Regions from separate parts of the Homo sapiens genome. Here region 2 is linked to region 1. The links are contacts of gene promoters, found by promoter capture Hi-C in human tissues and cell types (Jung and others, 2019). All regions are on one chromosome and are shown on one strand. Each heading gives the region's core, a stretch centred on a gene start or on the middle of the fragment in contact. The rest is flanking DNA. Distances are from core to core; before and after follow the strand shown.

The links. Contacts are between HindIII fragments. The study calls those that stand out against the background at their distance.
Region 2: a contact is called between a fragment that was not itself captured here and the fragment with the promoter of ANKRD18B in region 1, in 1 of the 25 tissues and cell types used here (thymus).

What each region holds. Positions count from the first base shown.
Region 1 is chr9:33,522,676-33,525,737 of GRCh38, reverse strand. It overlaps ANKRD18B (ankyrin repeat domain 18B), which reads right to left and starts at 1,487. Exons shown (of 19, transcript NM_001393611.1): 1 at 1,043-1,487. The coding sequence starts at 1,248. RefSeq lists an enhancer at 2,071-2,120. The HindIII fragment of the contact is 14,531 bases long and covers 1-3,062 here.
Region 2 is chr9:33,281,580-33,284,683 of GRCh38, reverse strand. CHMP5 (charged multivesicular body protein 5) reads right to left here. Exons shown (of 8, transcript NM_016410.6): 8 at 2,614-3,104. Among named protein-coding and RNA genes, the nearest start is that of NFX1, 7.4 kb to the left of the region's middle. The HindIII fragment of the contact is 7,030 bases long and covers 1-3,104 here.

The DNA of each region.
Region 1 (3,062 bases), core at 238-2,737:
TAAATATTTTTCAAGTGTGTTATCTTTTGTTAATTTTTTTCTGATACACAGGGGATTTTAATTTTAGTTTGCTAAATCAACCTTCAGAATGCCTGCTTGTGAGGTCATTCTTAGGAAGGCCACTGTTAACGTAAAATGTACCTGTATAAATAAGTCTTTGTGTTTTCTTCTGGTATTTTTCTAATTTTGCATATGTAAAAATTTCAGTCTGTATTCCATCAGGAACTCATTTTTGTGACATAAAATTTCATTAGTTTTCTTCACACAGCAGGCATTTTATTAATAACTCGTCCTTTCCTACTCATCTGAAATGTTACCATTATCAATCCCTATGTATATATCTTACATATATTTCAGTGTTTTTGGATTTCCTATTCTGTTCCATTTATTTATATGTGTTTGTAGCTGTTAGTAAATAATTAATTGTGGGAATTAATAGCACGTTTTGATATCTAGAGGAGCAAGTCGTTTTTCACTCCATCATAAACATTTTAAAATGTCATCACAATGGTAAGACAGACAGCAAGTGTCATGCAAAAATGATAAAACCTTGATATTTTCATTCGGTTTATGTAAAACTGATAAACATATTAAGAGCTCACATTTTGAGAAAACTGAGTCTTCTCATTCAAGGAACCCACCTCCCACTTCCAAGTGTCCCTCTAAGAAGCCCCAGTAAAGAACCTATCTACCTAGGTGGATTTGGATGTAAAACCGACACAGGGTTTTATCTGAGAACTCTTCGCCTACTGAAAATGGCTCATGGTATTTTTGACATGGGAATGAGTTCTCATTAGGCACCTCCCTATCATGTATATGGCTCCATGTTTTAAACGTAGATATGCTTAACTTTGTGAGTTAAATCACTCCAATTATCCACCAAGCGCTACAGGCGGGAAATTCCCAGCGATGGAAAGCAGCTGAGGCTCCATTTGGCTCCGCGGCTCCCAGGGTCCCGGCGAACTCCGACGACCCCGCCTCAGGCGGTGCGGGGAAACCGGGCCTGGGGGCCCCCTCCCACCGAGGGCTGAGCCCCCGCTACCTGTCTTTTCTGTCGCGGACGTCCAAGTCCCGGAACCTGCGCGTCAGGCAGTGCTCCACCTCTGCGGCGTCGCCCTTGATGGCCGCCCTGTGGATCTTCCGCAGTTCCCAGTCCCGAATGTGGTACCCCCGACCCGCATACTCTTGGTCCATGGAGCTCAGGAGCGCCTGGCCCAGGCGTCTCCCAAAACTGAGGAGCTTCCTCATGGTGGCGACTTCTCAGATGCCCACCACCCGCTCCTGAGACGCCGCGGCTCCTCGTGGCCTTTCCACCCCCACCCAGCTCCAAATTCGAGATCCCCCTCCCCACCCAGCGATCCACCCCTAAATCCAAGATGCACCCCCAAACCCGCGATGTAGCTCAGAATCCGCGATCCAGCCCGGTCCACTACAGCCTTCAGCAGCGACACTCGCAGCCTCCGACCTCTCGATAGAGTGAGCCCAGTAAAGCGGTTAGGCGCGCGCCTACAGCTCAGCGCCAGCCCGGACTCCGGAAGGCGCCCTCGAGCTCGCGTGGCCCGCAGAGGGTGACTGCAGCTCGGGCTCAGGCGCCGCTGGCTTGCGGGTTCTCCTGGGCTGGCGCGGGACGTTCCGGAATCTCAGGCGCGCATCCCTTCCCGCCTGGCCGTGACTCCCGCCCCTCTTCTCCGAAGAGAGATCGGGGCCGCTCCAGGGACCGTCCGCGGGGATGGGGCTGAGGGTCGGTTCCTGCCCCGGTGCAGCCGCCGCCGGGCAGACCGCCTGGCTTGGCCGCAGCCACGGCGACATCTAGCCCCGGTTCTGCGAGGCTGGGCGCGCCAGCCAGCTTGGGAGTTGCCCGGCGCCTGTAGCTGGGCGCCCAGGTGGTGGAGCATGGCCTGGGCGGCCTCTGGATCGCGGGTGCCCCTGGCCTGAGAGCCCGCCAGACCCTGCCCCCTCCCGGCTCCTCCTCTGCCAGAGCTCGAGACCTCTAGCCAGGGGCCCTCTGCAGCCACCGGGGATGGGGCTGAGGGCCGGTTCCCGCCCCCGTGCAGCTGCTGCAGGGCAGACCGCCTGGCTCGGCCGCAGCCACAGGGACATCTGGCCCTGCTTCCGAGATGTGGGGAGTGCGGGCGGGCCCAGGAGTTGCCTAGAGGCTGCTGCCTGCACACAGAGGGCGACTGCAGCTTGGGCGCCCAGGCAGCGGAGCATGGTCTGGGTGGCCTCTGGAATGCGTGCGCGCCAGGCCTGAGGGCCCCCCTGGTGGTGCCACCTGCCCTGGTCTTCCTCTGCCTGAGCCTGGAGCAGCTGAAATGGCCACTCTGCAGTCACAGGGGATAGAGTTAAGTTTTCTTATCCCACGCATGCACACGAAAAGGTAACTATTCTGTGAGGTAATTAACATGTTCATTGACTTCATTTTGGTAATCATTTCAGAATGTGCATATAAACGCATCACATGTACAATTTTTATTTCTCTATTACACCTCAGTAAAGCTGAAATAATTAACAGGATTGAAAGGATAAACCCACAGTTCTATAGTCACAGTTGGACACTTCAATACCTCATTTTAATTAATGGATAGAAAAACCAGACAGAAGCTTCATGAGAAATACAAGACTTAAACAACAGTAGAAGCCACTGAGAGCTAATACACATATACAGAACAGTCCATCCCAACAACAGCAGAATATACATTCTTTTCAAGTTATGTGGAACTTTCTCTAGGATAGGCCATATCTTCATCCACAAAATATGTCCTAATCATTTTTAAAAGTTTGAAATCATACAAAATATAATTTACAACCACAATGGAAGAAACAACAGATAAATAAGTGAAAACTGGAAAATTCATGAAAATGTGGAAATTAAACAATACAGTCTTCAACTACCAGTGAGTGAAAAAATAAATTACAAGCAAAATTATAAAATATCTTGAGACAAATTAAAATAAAAACAAAACATACCAAAACTTATTGAATGCAGTGAAAGTAGAGTTCAAAGGAAAATGTATGGATATAAACAACTACATTTTAAGAAAAAATCTCAAATCAATATCCGC
Region 2 (3,104 bases), core at 186-2,685, 240 kb after region 1:
ACGAACAACTTTACCTTAGGGCAATCATTGCCTACTCCTTCACTGCAGAAATTGATGGTAACAGTCCAGAATGCTTAACCATGAAAATAGGTTCAGACTGATCAGGCACCACAGAGCAGCAGTTAACTCTGGATACACTTAAGTACTTGGGGGAGCTTTTAAAAATCCAAATGCCCACACTGTATCCAGATCTATTATATCAGAATCTATGGGGGTAGGACCCAGACATCAATATTTTTAATAACTCTCTTGGTGACATAACTATAAGAAAACACAAAAGGAAAGCTAAGGGATATGGATGATAGAAGTGCCAAACTTTTTCTATACAGAATCATATCAATCTCCTTCCCCATTCCTGCTAAACTCTCAGAACTGACAGATTAAAACCTAGGACCCCCTGCACTCAATTCTGCTCTTTCCTAGTAGTTAACAGGTGAAATATTGACCAGTGAGGTTGTCTGGTGGTAGCTATAGGAGTGATGATCACAGGCTTTATGGTACCTAGGGCTTTCTAATACAGGACTCACTCCTTCCACTTTCCTTTAATTCACTGGTATTGATGCAGACCAGGGCATGCCCTTTGGCCTTTCCCCAATACAGGAAGAATTAGCAGAATGACAAAGACATAAGGAAGCTTCAGGTAGGAGAAACCATGAACAGAGGCAAGGAATCATGGCTATATGGTGGATGTGGGGGGACCAGATGCAGAACAATTACTAGATCACAAAATTGAAAAGTGTGACATGACACAAGCTGCAGAGCAATTATTCTGTCTCTTACTGGCAAGTGACAGGAACCCAATGCCAACTACTTTAAGCAGAAAAGGGGGTTAAGTTTATTTGCAGAATCCTCAAATACCTCACAGAACGAAGAGTTGTAGAGACTTGGAATGTCAAGGATCAGAATTCAGAGCTGAGTGCCATGGACATCTTTCAGTCTGTCTCTCATCTTGGCTCCCCTCTGGCTTCAATCTCTCATACTGACAAAGAGTAGCACTTCCCCTACTTTCTATTTAGAAAATGTGAGTTATGGACTCTGATAGACACAGCGTGACCACATACACACTTCCATAGCTTGGAAGGGTAAGGACAGTACTACTCTAAAATTGGCATGTTCCTAATAATCGCACAGTTGAAATGGGGGAGCAGTTCCCTTGAAAGAAAGGAAATGCTTTCTGAAAAGACTAGGCAATAAACCATTACAGATAGGCAGAGGCCAGGTCATTGGCAGCTTTTTATGCCCCGGTGGAAGTATTAGAGGACATTAAAGAATTCAAGTCAGATTTATATTTTAGAAAGGTAAGAGTAGCTATATGTGATCAGTGTACTCAAGGAAGTGAAACTATGCGAGAAGAGAAGACATTCCAAAAGACTATGTGAGAGACATCTAGGCCAGCGAGAGTTGAGAGAAGGAGAGGAGGAGTTAGATTTGAGAAACAGGGATTAGGGTTTAAGGATAATTGACTGTGTAGGCAAAATGTAGGCATCAAGGACAACTCAAGCGCTTTCTGTTTTAAATGATAGGAGAATAATAATTCCATTAGCCTCACAGCCTCCCATCATGAGACAATGGTTTCCCTGTCTCACATCTCCCATCATGAGACAGGGAAAACAGAAGCAGGAGATTCAGGTCTGAGGAAAGGTGATAGGCTGTTTCAGCTATTTGAATGTGAGGTGCTTGTGGGCTTCTGGAACATCCAAATATTTGTTAGGCAAACAGCTGGATATAAATAAGATTCTGAAACTCAGGGGCAAGTTCAGGGATAGAAGTATAGATTTGGAAGTTAGCAGTTAAAGCCATGAGAATAGCTGAGATCACTAAATGTAAGTAAACAGAGAAAGAAGTCTGGGGGGTAAAAGCTAGAATCCAGAGGAGCAGTAACATTACAGTTAGAGAGTTGAGGATTTCAGAAAGAAGCCTTAGAGGGAATAGTTAGAGGAACAGGAGAACCGGAGAGTACTATCACAAAACCCAAGAGAGTAGAGATTTAGGTAGAATGATTGCTCACTCATATCCAATGCACTAATGTGGTCTAGCTAAAGGGCTAAATATCACCCACTAAAATGGGCAATATATGAATCACTGGTAACACTAAGCAAGACGAGAAATCAACGAGAAATGTTTGCTGACAGTGAACCCCAAGATAATGAGCTTAATTTGGATATGTTAGATTCTAGGTAACGATGGGGCATTTAAGTGGAAATGCCCAGAATTGAAAATAAGGATAAGAAGTCTAGGCTAGTGACAGTCATTTTGAGTCATTAGTGTGTAGGTAATAGTTGATATCATGGGTGTGAGATTTCTCAAGTAGAATACAGATTGGAACTCTAATGGAAGAAATATTCAAGGGGCTAAGAAAGAGGTATCCATATAAGAGAGTAAGTGGGCCAGATTAGAAGAAAACACAGAACTCACAGAAAAGCCAAGAAAGGTTTCAAGAAGGTAATGATGAATACTATAATGTTTGCTCCCTCTGGAAGGCTTCTTGAGAAGGTGAGGTTGGAGATAGGAGAGGGTTACATACGTTATCTCATCTCCACTTGTAACTAGACAAGAACTCCTGAAGAGAGGAACTTGGTAACCCCTGGGCTGGTACAGAGACTTCTACAAAGCTGGTGTTCCTAAATGTTTATTGGTTTGATCTGCAGACACATGAGAGTCAGGTGCACATAGCACTGTGAGGCACCCAGCTAGGCTGGAGGGGCCATGCTGTTGGCAACAAGTTGAATGAGGAAGGGAGGACAGGATCATTAAAGACCCTGAAATTGGGCAGGAGTTTGAACTTGCTGTAGTACTCCAGGCACCTTCCAAGAAAAGAATGAAGCAGTTTCTTTTTTATTGTTAACAATCCCTCATATAAGAATAGCCCCTTGCAGTTAACAAGGTACTTATGACCATTACCTCAATTATTCCTCACAAAAGCTCTGTGAGTTAAGCATGATTTTACTAATAAGGAAACAGAAGGTTAGAGAGGTTGAATAGACTACTCAGTAGTTAGTAAATGGTAGACCCAGGGCCCAAGCCCAGATTGTTCCTTGCTCTTTCCTCACAATGCTACTGGTTAATTTGGTTTCTGTAGTGGAGTTATAGGCTGAAATGACATT